Linked DNA regions of Homo sapiens: all the other regions are linked to region 1. The links are contacts of gene promoters, found by promoter capture Hi-C in human tissues and cell types (Jung and others, 2019). All regions are on one chromosome and are shown on one strand. Each heading gives the region's core, a stretch centred on a gene start or on the middle of the fragment in contact. The rest is flanking DNA. Distances are from core to core; before and after follow the strand shown.

Region 1 (3,171 bases), core at 368-2,867:
CATGTTTGGTAAATAAAAATATACACTTAAAAAAATCTGAAACACTTAATCTGTGCAGGTAGCTGTTTTCAATCTTTCAGGCTACGCAAAAGTCATACAAGGACGCTACAGCTAACCAGAGATTCTACAACTCAGGAATCCAAAGGATGTAGAAAGACTGTGTTCTTTTATTTTTTTTAAAAGCAAAATTCACATGAGTTTAGATCAAATATTTCTTATGGAGACCAAGAACATTAAAAAATAAAGTGTCATTAAAATATGAGAGAGGAGGAAGCTAAGTAAAATGGCCTTGACCTTATCCTCACCCTTTCCACCATGCTTCAATTAACATCTCTTACCCCTTCTGAGCACCAGGATTTTTCCAGATAATGGCAAATAGAAATGAAACATTTGGAAGTGAGCAGGAAAACGCTAACAAGTGTACAGATAATGTACAGCAGACACACAACATTGGTTGGCGAGAGGAAATCTGGCAGCCTATTGATTATTAATGTGAAAAGAAAACAAATGATAAAACGCAATATGGTTTCTTTGCATATCCGAGGTTTTCAAATAACACCTTATTTCCTAACAGGTAAAATCTGAATTTATGAAAATCGTCGGAATTCACAGCCTTTTATCCTAGTGATCATCCTATGATATCCTTACCCAGACACAGACATTAAACTGCCCATTCCCTATCCCTATTTTTTTTCCAATTGTCATGATGAATCCACGCTATGATGCAATCTTTTTGCAGAATCAAGTCGTTTTGACTATTTTGCTTTCCTAAAACCACACTGTCTTCAAGCCAGGTATTAATACCATTATTACTGAAAATAACAAATTGGTTAGGGGAGAGTGATATGTAATGTGAAAGTTTTGCGATCCTCAGGCTCAAATCCAACTCGGGCTCCCGCTCTTCTTTCAGGAAGGCAACTTTGAGACACTCACTCTGTTTGAAACTCACAGCTATACTTGAAGCAATGACGAAAAAAAAAAAAAGCCAAGGATCAAGAATAGTGCTGAGTCCCAAGCTTTGCCAAGGTTTAAGACCAGGGCTCAAGACGCACCCCCAAACCCGCAACCACGTTTTCTTTCTTTTTTTCCCCACTTAGAGTGAGAACCGAACACAGACGCTCTCGCCCTTGCCTCCAAACCCAGTATCTCGCTACAGCTGGTGCATTGGAAGTTATGAGCACAAACAGATGCTGCAGAGAAATCTGTTTCTATTGCTCAACTGTTCCAAGCATGTCTCAGTATTTTTAGCTCTGGGGATGTTCTGGTGCGCACACAAACTATATAGGCATGATCTGGGACTCCGGAGTGTGGGTGAGCGCTACAGCAGTGTGACAGCTGGGCACCTCTGGAGCAGCGGGGCAGGGTAGGGTAGGGGACGGCGGCCAGAGTCCATTCCCCAGGACACACCGGCAGCGAGCGAAAAGGAAGAAAACACAGCAGCCCTTACCTGTTGCTGGCGCAGGAGCATGGGGACATGGAGTGGAAGTGGGGGGTACAGAGGCATGTAAGATCCAGTGGTTTGTAAAAAGCGAGTGAGCCAAAGCAAACCAGAATTCCCAAGACCCAGCCCGCCGGCGCCGGGAAGGCTGCGCGCTGGCCAGGGCTCCAGTGCGCTCTGCAATATCCTGGGCTCTTTTGAGGCGGTCCGTGCGACACCGGCTCTCCTGGCCCCGCCCCCGGCCGCTGCCGGCCAATCGCAGCGCGCCTGGCCGCGCGGCCGGCCCCGGGAACCGCGGCGGGGAGGGGAGGATGCTGCGAGGCGTTGCCAGCGGAGGGAACCTGCCGCCGCCTCGTCCCCCTCCACCCTCGGAGCCCGGCCGGGGAGTCGGGCCCGGGCCGGGGAGGAGGAAGTTGCGGCCCAGCTGGGACAGCAGCAGGTGGGAAGCTCCGCGCCCGGCTGTTGCGGCTGCCTGATTGCAGCCTGGCCTTGGGCAAAGCTTCCTACTCCGTCTGGAGCCCCACACACTTCCCGGTTCCCCCGCTCTTGGGCCGCTTGCCCTGCGTGCTCCTCGAGGGGCCTGCGAGGTGCCAGCGCCGGGTAGAGACCTTTGCCGCAGGGGCAGGATTGTTCGTCGGTCCCGGCGCGTCTCCCTCTCCACTCCCTCTCTGCCGGAGCCCCTCGGCCCTTCGAAGCCCCCCGCGGAGGCTGCAGCGCCCGGAGAAGCCACTGAGTCAATGGGGCGAGGGACTGGGGCGGGCGCGCAGAGCCCCCAGGATTGAGACGCGCGCAAGTGCGGCCACTGCAGCGCCGCTTGGCTGTTTGTTCTCCCGACTGTTCGCGAATTACTTACAAGGCGCCTAGGCTTCTCCGAAGGGTGGACGGCTCGTTCCCTCTCGCCTTGTCCGCCCTCAGTCTCTCCACCACCGCCCGGCACGCTTTGCTGATCTAAAATCAGAACAATTAGAGAGTAATGATTTTTTTTGGAATAGCAACTCCTACAGACACTCAGATCTGCCCTCGCTTCAGCGCCTCCCAGCCCTCCTTCCCAGCAGCCAGGCGAGAGCGCGCAGACCCCTAAAAAGCAACTTCAGTGTTAACCGGGTCTGGATCCTGGAACTTTATAAACTAATCCGTGTGTGTGTGTGTGTGTGTGTGTGTAAACCGAAGAGTAAGTGCCTATTATTTCTGAGTACTTCGGTGTCCTAACGAAGCTTTGCTCCTAAAGGACAGGATATATTTTAGGAGTCTTTCTTTCCACTGAGTTTTTTAAATGTTTATTTTCTCGAGCGATCAAATGTGTCTTTTGTGCAGTTTATTTAAACCTCGTAAGGCCTCCTTGAGTCGCTGAACTAATTCAGCAAACTAGCTGGTATTGTGGACGGCGCAGTCGGGGTGGATTTTTGTGTGTAGGAGAGGTGAAACTGACAATTCAAGGAAAGGTTCTGTGCGAGTCCCCACCTCCCATCCTCATATCCACACGTGGCCCCTAGGAGGTGCTGGTGAAATATGCTTGCTTAGGTTTCGCAGATCCGCACTTACTCCTGCCTTAACAAGTGTGCCTTTTTTCTTAGCACTGAGCAAGGTACTTAAATTAAAAGGGTGTGCAAGAGATGATGCACTCGGTGTGGCTGCTCTGATAGCCAAATGGCGATGTGGTCCCAGTTAATGTGTTGAGATTATACTGTTCACCAAGCCCTGTTACGAACTCTGTTGCCATGCACGTGGGAATA
Region 2 (3,171 bases), core at 397-2,896, 640 kb after region 1:
TATAGTTCACCTCATGAGTATGGCTCCCTCCCACTTTCCACCCCAACTTCCTTTGGATTCCCTTCCCAGAACTTCAGCATTGTCTCTTATGGTGGGCAAGTTTCTCCACAGTTAGCAAGTATTCAGTAGCAACCAAGGTTCTACAAGACTTCTGGGGACCTAAGAAACACTCTCAAACTACCCACTATCTTCTCACCGAAAGTAATTCTTTGCCTCTACTTCCTATCCCCAGGCCTCTAGTGGGTCCTATCAGCTTTCTCTTTATGCTTTAATCAACATCAAATTGCTTAAAGCTCACATAAAGGAGTTTCTTGCTTTCGTGACATTGTGAATGATGTTCCTTCTGTTTGGAATATGTTTCCTTTCCTATTTCCCTTTTGTCTGGAAAATTCCTCTCGTGATCGCAGCTCCAGATTTATCTCCTCCAGAAAAGCCTATCCTGAGGTCTTCCCTCTGAGTTCCTTAAATCGCCTATGCCCCTATCTCTATCACTGGACTTGCCACATTATACTATAATTATTCATTTATGAGACTTCTCTACTTGACTTTGGGCTCAGTGAGGGCAGGGAGTGTGATACGGTCATCTTTGCTTCTCCAGCAGAGAGGGCATACTCCACAAATGCTTTCGGAATGAATGTATGCATGATGGATTCAACCCCGATGGAAGAAATTCATGAGAACTCATCTTCTTCTTTCACACTGACACTTGGGAGGTGAGGCTGTCTTACCACTGTGAGGTAAAGTCAACAAACTCTGCAGAGAACTTGTCTGCTGGGAGTTGTGGCGATGGCTCCTCTACCACCTGTTTGAGCTGCTGAAATGGAGTTCCCCATGAATCATAGGGAAATCGAAGGATGGCCAACTCAATCTGGAGAAAAGAAGAAAAAAGGAGACAACAGTTTCAACAGGGCTGCTTTAGGGAATCACCCACGTTTCATTTGTGGATAGACAGCAGGAAACACAAGGCAAAGTTCAAGTATAAGTCCAGGGGTAGGGGGGCAGGAAATAAACTAATAATTTGTTCTCTAGCAATTTTCCCCAAATTCCTAGTGCTAGGGATTTTTAAATATTACTTACTAGACACAGCCACTTAAGCCTATCTAAAATGGGGACCCTCACTAAAACCCACTGTGGCACTTCATAAAAATTGTAAGCCAACCGTATTAAACTTCAGGATGTAAAGCTACGAGGATTTCAAACGTTTGGTCTGACAAGTAATTCCCAGCCTAAGATCTTTCCAGAGCCGAGCATCTACTGCCACCTTCAGGTCCCTTGGTGAAATGACAGGGAGAAAAAGCAACCTAGAACCAAATGACAGATCTTTTTTTGGACTTGAGAAAAGGCCACTTTGCATTACAGGATCATGTGCTTTCTGGGCAGGCAGGAGAAATAACTCATGGGATTTATTCAGCTGCTGTGCCTGGGGAGGAGCCAGGACCACAGTGGATAATTCCAGACCTTGGTGATCCACTGAAAATGTATGACCACCAAAGTTATGAAATTTACAATCACCAAAGTTATGAATAAGTTATGAATAAATCATATAACTTTAGGGCTGTGTCTAAGGAAATCATCCTATTGGTTATCATGTATTGAGGATATACCTGACTGATACGGTTGGGCTGTGTCCCCACCCAAATCTCATCTTGAATTGTAGCTCCCATAATTCCTACATGTTGTGGGAGGGACCCAGTGGGAAACAATTGAATCATGGGGGTGGTTCCCCCATACTGTTCTATGGTTCTCATGGTAGTGAAAAAGTCTCACGAGATCTGATGGTTTTATGAAGCATCTCCCTTTTCACTTGGCTGTCTCATCTCATTCTCTCTTGTCTGCCGCCATATAAGATGTGCCTTTCACCTTCCGCCATGATCGTGAGGCCTCCCCAGCTGCATGGAACTGTGAGTCCATTAAACCTCTTTTTCTTTTAAATTACTCAGTCTTGGGGATGCTTTTATCAGCAGTGTGAAAACGAACTAATACACTGACCTGATCAGACTTTGACTTCTACTTCTCCAATAAAAATATCCTGGGAAGCATAGTCTATGTCCTGGATAACACGGCCCTATCAGGGTTCACGCACATTAGCATTCTTTGCACAGCTTAAGCTTCTTGCCTTGGCTCGAATAATTTAATTTTAAACTATAAGGAATCTGGTCAGATCCTCTCGTTTTACAGAGGAGGATAGGAAGATAGTCCATGTGACTGTAACAATTACTCAAAAAGGCATACAGCTCGTCAGAGGTGGAATCAAGAGAAAGATTGGTTTCCCCAATCCCATATCAGTGTTTTTATTGTACCACAATACAAACAATTATTACTCAAAATCTCCTACCAGCTCAGCAGGAGAGGGCGCCCCAAACCAGCATTTAGGGCATTTGTTTCTTGAACCCAACGTCCACCTCATTCTAGTTTCATTACCCACAACCTCATAGTTCATGATGATTGGCATACACTACCATCGTGATGCCCAGACTCCAAATGTCAGACTTCACACTGTATCCCTTCTGGTTGAGCTCTGGGTTTATTCTTTCAGGCTGGAAAGAAGACAGACAACTGAGAAACTGGGAAGACAATTGAGATAACGTTCTTAGCTCAATAGTCTCTGGGGATGGGGGTAGCACCAGCTGCCAAGTGAGTTGTTATAAGCTGTTAACATGCCACCAAGGCCAAGAAGACCCGGTTAACTACAACAAATATCAATGCCTCCGTGGGGTTTCCCTTCTTCTGTGTTTGTCTTTTCTTGGACACAGTAATGGATCAAGTTCCTTTCATAACAAATTTAAAATTTGCCTTAAGAAGAAACAGGGTATACATTATAAAGCTACTTTGCCCATCTAGAATTATCCTTGTTTAAAACATGAACAGTCCAGAACTCAATAAAACAAGTGTCACTGGGCTACTGTCCCATGCTAATAGACCTGAGCAATTTTTAGCTAAACACAGACAGGAAGCTTTTCAATTCAAAGCACAAGTCCATTTCCAGGTAGAATCTAGTGGCCGTTCCTCCAGTTAAAGGGGATTGCAAGGTCTCTGCTAATGACGGTGAATCTTCACAGCTGTGAGGTCCTCTCATAACTAATCTAACTGCCTTGTTTGGGTAATTTAAGCTCTATTTACTATTTTGTCCTCAACAAACAAGGTAATACTCCCCTGCAATACAGTGTGGAA
Region 3 (3,171 bases), core at 453-2,952, 580 kb after region 1:
TTTGGGAGGCTGAGGTGGGTGGATCATGAGGTCAGGAGTTCAAGACCAGCCTGGCCAATATAGTGAAACCCTGTCTCTACTAAAAATAAAAAATTAGCCAAGTGTGGTAGCAGGTGCCTGTAATCCCAGCTACTGGGGAGGCTGAGGCAGGAGAATCTCTTGAACCCGGGAGGCGGAGGTTGCAGTGAGCCAAGATCACGCCACTGCACTCCAGCCTGGGTGACAGAGCAAGACTTTGTCTCAAAAAAAAGAAAAATCGCTTTGGGCAACCACCATAATAGTAATTGTTATAGAGATGAACTATCAGTGGATGCTAAAACTACTGGTGGAAGTTTGATTTAAAATATGATACTTACATAAACTCAAAGCATTTTCCCACAAGATACGTATTAAGGACAAAGGGAAAAACAATTTTACAGTGGAGAAACCTTATCATCTTAACCAAAGGGATCAAAATTACCACCAATAATGAGAAAAATAGACATCATGTGCGCCCCATTAGATTGCACTAAGAAAGACAAAACATCACATCTGAGTATTGCCAAAAATGCTTAACATAAATCAAATCACGAGAAAAGTTCACAAACCTACACTGAAATGTGGTATACAAAATAAATGTCCTGTATTTATCAAAAGTATCAAGGTCATGAACAATAAAGAAACACCAAATAATTGTTTTACAATGAAAGAGAATAAAAAGACATAACAATCAAATATAATATGTGATCACGGACAGGATGCCAAATGAGAATTATTTTTTTTTTTTGCAGTAAAAGACATTATGGACAAATGATAAAATTCGATAAGATCTATCAACCAGATGAAGCCTCACAAGTGTTTCCTCTAGAAGATCAGATGGTAAATGTTTTCAGAGACTGCAGGCCATGTAGTCTCTACCACAACTATTTAACAATACCATTGTAGGCAGAAAGCAGCCAAGGATGGTCCATAAACAAATGGGCATGGCTATGTTCCAATAAACCTTTATTTACAAACATAACTGGGAAGGCACATTTGCCAACTGCTGGACTAAATTAATACTAGATCAATATTAATTTCCTAATTTGCTTATTGTACTGCAGTTATGTGAAAGAACATTTATTTTTAGGAAACATGTACTTAAGCATTTTGGGATAAAAGACATCATATTTGCAACTTACTCCCAAAAATTTCAGAGAAAGAAAAAGAAGACAAGTAATAAACAAGCTGAAATTTGAATATTTGGGGAAACTGGTGAAGGATATATGGAAACTCTCAGTACTATTTTTGCAAATTGTCTTTAAGTCTGAGATAATTTCAAAAACAAAGAGTTAAAAGCCAAACATGGTGGTACGTGACTCCTCTAGTCCCAGCTACTCAGGAGGCTGAGGTGGGAGGAGCCTAGGAGTTCAAGACCAGCCTGGGCAGCATAGGGAGACCCTCTCTCTTAAAAACAAATCAATTTAAAGTTGAGAAAATGAATTATGGGAGGAAGCCCAAGTGGAATAATGCCATGTAGATACAGAAGATGACTTGAGAGGTAGGAGTGTAATAGACAGTCAGCAGCAAGACATAAAAGTTGCAGTTGACAGAGATAATGGGGATAAAATTTCCTCTAGGGCTGCCTTTTAAAGACCAACTTAAATAAAACTGATTCCCATTTTCTTACAGGCCATAACTTTCAATGATGCCCCAAAGGCACAATTCACATAAATGTTCCGCCCACTATGCATTGTGTGCAAAATGCATAACTCTGAAGGGAAATTGCATCTACATTTTCTCCTCCTCAACTCCCACATTGTTGGGGTTGTCTGAGCATTTCAAATGCCACAGAAATACTTTGCAGAGCACAAAGAGCTGCCAAACACTGCAACCAAAGTTTGTCCAGACATATGCATAAGTAACTGGGATGTGAATTATGAGACTGTGGAAATAAAATCTTTACCTCTCAGACAGTTTCTAAGGCAATGCCTTAGAAATGATAAGAACAAGAGGCAGGAGGGTGGGGGTCCCCAGCAAAGGCCCTACCCTCAAGCCTAGATACCTGAGGCCCTAAATGGGAACAGGCATTCCAGTTTTTGCACCCAAAAGTTGCCTTTTGTCCTGCCACACTCCCCTATCCTTTGCCCATATAAAACACAAATCCCCAGCTCTAGGAGGAGAGAAGCAGACAAAGAGAAGAGCAGAAGAGTAGTAGAGAAGGGGAGAAGAGAAGGAATGTCGGGAGGAGTTTGGCTGGGGACGGTTGGAGAATCAGCCACTGGACAGCCAAACCCCAGGGAAAGATCATCTTCCCACTCCATCCCCTTCCCAGCTCCCCATCCACCCCCTAAGAAAGACCTCCACCACTCAATAAAACCCCTGCATTCACCATCCTTCAAATCCGTCTGTGACCCAATTTTTCTGGGATGCTGGACAAGAGCTCAGAATACAGAAAGCTGTCACTCTGGCCCTCCATCCTTGCAAAAAGGCAGAGGGTCCACTGAACTGGTTAATACTTAAGCTTCACATGGACGGCAAGGTTAAAAGAGCTCACTATAACACACACCTGCTTGGGCTCCTGCCCCTATCTGTCTGTGTGCTCCCCCTCCCATAAGGGGTTTGAGCAGTGGCAGCTACCGAACAGATGAGCCACACCCCTGTCACATGTCCTGCAAGGGGGGTCAGGGAACTCTCCCATTTCAGAACTATGATAAAAATTTGGACAGTCATCCTGATATTATACAAATTTGAAAAATTAACCTTCCCTCTGGTAAGGTAACAAGAGAAACCCAAAATATGGGGGGAGGGGTGCTCTACACCGCAAAGGTTCAATTCTTGCTCATGCTAAGTCCAGTGCAGAATTTTTTACAGGAAAATTCTCTCCAGGACTTCTCCATCTCATGTTGCCACCATTTCCCCATCTCAGCTCCCAAGGCCTCTGCAGCACAGGAGGAAAGAACCCAAGAGTCATGGAGGGATTTGGGGGGCAGAAATCAAAGGAGCAGACATCACTTCTGCTCACAACCCGTTTGCCAAAACGGGTCCACAGCTCGAACTTAATCGCAAGCAAGGCTGAGAAAGGAAGGCAAGGAAGCCCTGATATTTTGTGAGCACTAAATATCTCTGCCACCAAATCTCTTCTGGTTTTTGTTTAGTAAAAACCCATAAACTTTTATCAAGATTGTCATTTAATAGAGAATGGAATTGGAT
Region 4 (3,171 bases), core at 172-2,671, 560 kb after region 1:
AAACAAATTTACAAGAAAAAAACAAACAACCCCATCAAAAAGTGGGCAAAGGACATGAACAGTCACTTCTCAAAAGAAGACATTTATGCAGCCAAAAGACACATGAAAAAATGCCCATCATCACTGGCCATCAGAGAAATGCAAATCAAAACCACAATGAGATACCATCTCACACCAGTTAGAATGGCAATCATTAAAAAGTCAGGAAACAACAGGTGCTGGAGAGGATGTGGAGAAACAGGAACACTTTTACACTGTTGGTGGGACTGTAAACTAGTTCAACCATTGTGGAAGTCAGTGTGGCGATTCCTCAGGGATCTAGAACTAGAAATACCATTTGACCCAGCCATCCCATTACTGGGTATATACCCAAAGGACTATAAATCATGCTGCTATAAAGACACATGCACACATATGTTTATTGTGGCACTATTCACAATAGCAAACACTTGGAACCAACCCAAATGTCCAACAATGATAGACTGGATTAAGAAAATGTGGCACATATACACCATGGAATACTATGCAGCCATAAAAAATGATGAGTTCATGTCCTTTGTAGGGACATGGATGAAATTGGAAATCATCATTCTCAGTAAACTATCGCAAGGACAAAAAACCAAACACTGCATGTTCTCACTCCTAGGTGGGAATTGAACAATGAGAACACATGGACACAGGAAGGGGAACATCACACTCTGGGGACTGTTGTGGGGTGGGGGGAGGGGGGAGGGATAGCATTAGGAGATATACCTAATGCTAAATGATGAGTTAATGGGTGCAGCGCACCAGCATGGCACATGTATACATATGTAACTAACCTGCACATTGTGTACATGTACCCTAAAACTTAAAGTATAATAATAATAAAATTAAAAAAATGATTATAAAAAAAAAGGAAAAAAAAACTGACCTCTTTTACCTAAAGGTTTTTTATTTTTCCCCCACAAGGTCATACATACTGTTTTTTTTTCTTTTTTAAATTTTAATGTAGTAAGGAACACTTAACACTTACCACATCTACCCTCCCACCAGATTCTTAAGTGTTCAATATAGTAATTGCTGTGCACATACAGAATGTTGCATAGCAGATCTCTGGGGCTTATGCATCCTGCATAACTGATTTTTTGCCCTTTGATTAGCAACTCCCCATTTTCCCCTCCCCTCAGCCCCTGGCAACCACGATTCTCTTCTTTGCTTTCTTGACTTTGGCTGGCAGAGACAAATTCTTAGTAATCACCTATAAAACTGCTAAATTTAGATTTCTGAAGGTTTTAAACTACTGAGAGGGCAGTTGGCAAGGCTTTATTCCTGATTCTCGACTGCACTTATATATATCTAACTACTAGCACCTGCCTTGGCCTTCCTCCTTTCAATCTTGTATTAGTCTGTTCTCACGCTCCTATCAAGAAATACCTAGGCTGGGCATGGTGGCTCACACCTGTAATCCCAGCGGTTTGGGAGGCTGAAGCAGGTAGATCGCCTGAGCTCAGAAGTTTGAGACCAGGGTGAAACCCTGTCTCTACAAAAAATACAGAAATTAGTCACGCGTGGTGGTACACACCTGTGATTCCAGCTACTCTAGAGGCTGAGGTGGGAGGTTGGCTTGAGCCTGGGAGGTGAAGGTTGCAAAGAGCCAAGATCACACCACTGTACTCCAGCCTGGGTGACAGAGCCAGACTCTGTCTCAAAAACAAACAAAAAAAAAGAAATAAGAAAGAAAGAAAGGCCTGAGACTGAGTAATTTATAAAGAAAAGAGGTTTCATTGGCTCACAATTCTGCAGGCTGTACAGGAAGAATGACAGCATCTGCTTGGTTTCTAGGGAGGCCTCAGGAAACTTACAATCATGGTGGAAGGCAAAGGGGAAGCCAGCACTTCATATGTCCAGAGCAGGAGCAAGAGAGAGAGGGACGGGGGAGGTGCCACATACTTTTAAACAACCAGATCTTGTGAGAACTTACGACACAGTACCAAGAGGGGATGATACTAAAGCATTCATGAGAATTCCACCTCCATGATCCAGTCACCTCCCACCAGGCCCCACTTCCAATATTGGGGATTACAATTTAACAGGAGATTTGGGCAGGGACACAAATCCAAACCATATCAAATCTGTGATGTTGCTTTCTTACCACCTATATCACTACCTACTCACAGCTATAAATAATAGAGAAAATAATGCATTTACAATAGCATATCTCATAGTTTCTATCTGCCTGCCAATGTAATGACAAGCAACCTCAGCAGAAACTCAAAGATAGCAGAATGCAATTCTAATCAGAAAAATGCCCCTAACAGTTCAGTGGCTCACTCCAATCTGTAGCAAGCTCACTCACATAACACTCCACCCAGAGATCTCTGCAGCTGATATGGTTTGGCTCTGTGTCCCCGCCCAAATCTCACTTTGAATTGTAATAATCCTCATGTGTCAAGGGTGGGACCAGGTGGAGGGAATCGGATCATGGTGGCAGTTTCTCCCATGCTGTTCTCGTGATAATGAGTGAGTCTCAAGAGATCCGATGGTTTTATAAGCATCTGGCATTTCCCCTGCTTGCATTCATTCTCTCTGCTGCCACCCTGTGAAGAGATGCCTTCCACCATGATTGTAAGATTCCTGAGGCCTCCGCAGCCATGCAGAACTGAGTCAATTAAACCTCTTTTCTTTATAAATTACCCAGTCTTGGGTATTTCTTCATAGCAGTGTGAGAACAGACTAATACAGCAGCTGTTATCCATCAGCAACATCAGCCTTACTTAGATGGTTAAAAATAAAATGTTGTATTTGGGGTGGGGGTCAGGGTGAATGGGGAAGGCAGTGGCTAGCCCAAGGCATTTTCTTGCTCAAGGAATGATTTTTGAAGATTTACAATTGTTTCTGTTCCTCTTCACTGGTATTTTCACCAGATGGATTTTTTGCTAAATGCCGCAGAGAAAATCATTAGCCAGCTTATATCCCTTGAGTAATGGTATTTAATGGTTTTATGCAGAAAAGTTACATTAATATAAATCAGTGGTCCTCGACAGGTGGCAATCCTTCCCTATCCCAACATTTAGCAAATTCTGGAGACATTTTAGGGGCAGGAAATTCTAGCGGCATCTAGTGGCAAGGGCCAGGGATGCTACTAAATACCCTACAATGCACAAGACAGTCCCCCACAACAAGGAATAA

The links. Contacts are between HindIII fragments. The study calls those that stand out against the background at their distance.
Region 2: a fragment that was not itself captured here is called in contact with the fragment with the promoter of KCNJ2 in region 1 in 1 of the 25 tissues and cell types used here (IMR-90 fibroblasts).
Region 3: a contact is called between a fragment that was not itself captured here and the fragment with the promoter of KCNJ2 in region 1, in 1 of the 25 tissues and cell types used here (dorsolateral prefrontal cortex).
Region 4: a contact is called between a fragment that was not itself captured here and the fragment with the promoter of KCNJ2 in region 1, in 1 of the 25 tissues and cell types used here (dorsolateral prefrontal cortex).

The regions. Positions count from the first base shown.
Region 1 is chr17:70,167,978-70,171,148 of GRCh38, reverse strand. It overlaps KCNJ2 (potassium inwardly rectifying channel subfamily J member 2), which reads right to left and starts at 1,617. Exons shown (of 2, transcript NM_000891.3): 1 at 1,448-1,617. It overlaps KCNJ2-AS1 (KCNJ2 antisense RNA 1), which reads left to right and starts at 1,747. Exons shown (of 1, transcript NR_036534.1): 1 at 1,747-3,171. RefSeq lists a silencer at 1,562-2,021. The HindIII fragment of the contact is 1,534 bases long and covers 1,478-3,011 here.
Region 2 is chr17:69,524,267-69,527,437 of GRCh38, reverse strand. It overlaps MAP2K6 (mitogen-activated protein kinase kinase 6), which reads right to left. Exons shown (of 12, transcript NM_002758.4): 9 at 2,460-2,537; 10 at 729-868. Among named protein-coding and RNA genes, the nearest start is that of MAP2K6-AS1, 40 kb to the right of the region's middle. The HindIII fragment of the contact is 4,624 bases long and covers 1-3,171 here.
Region 3 is chr17:69,589,371-69,592,541 of GRCh38, reverse strand. No RefSeq gene overlaps it. Among named protein-coding and RNA genes, the nearest start is that of LINC01483, 3.0 kb to the left of the region's middle. The HindIII fragment of the contact is 8,856 bases long and covers 1-3,171 here.
Region 4 is chr17:69,609,645-69,612,815 of GRCh38, reverse strand. The region is part of intron 2 of LINC01483 (long intergenic non-protein coding RNA 1483); the gene reads right to left. Among named protein-coding and RNA genes, the nearest start is that of LINC01483, 17 kb to the right of the region's middle. The HindIII fragment of the contact is 7,727 bases long and covers 1-3,171 here.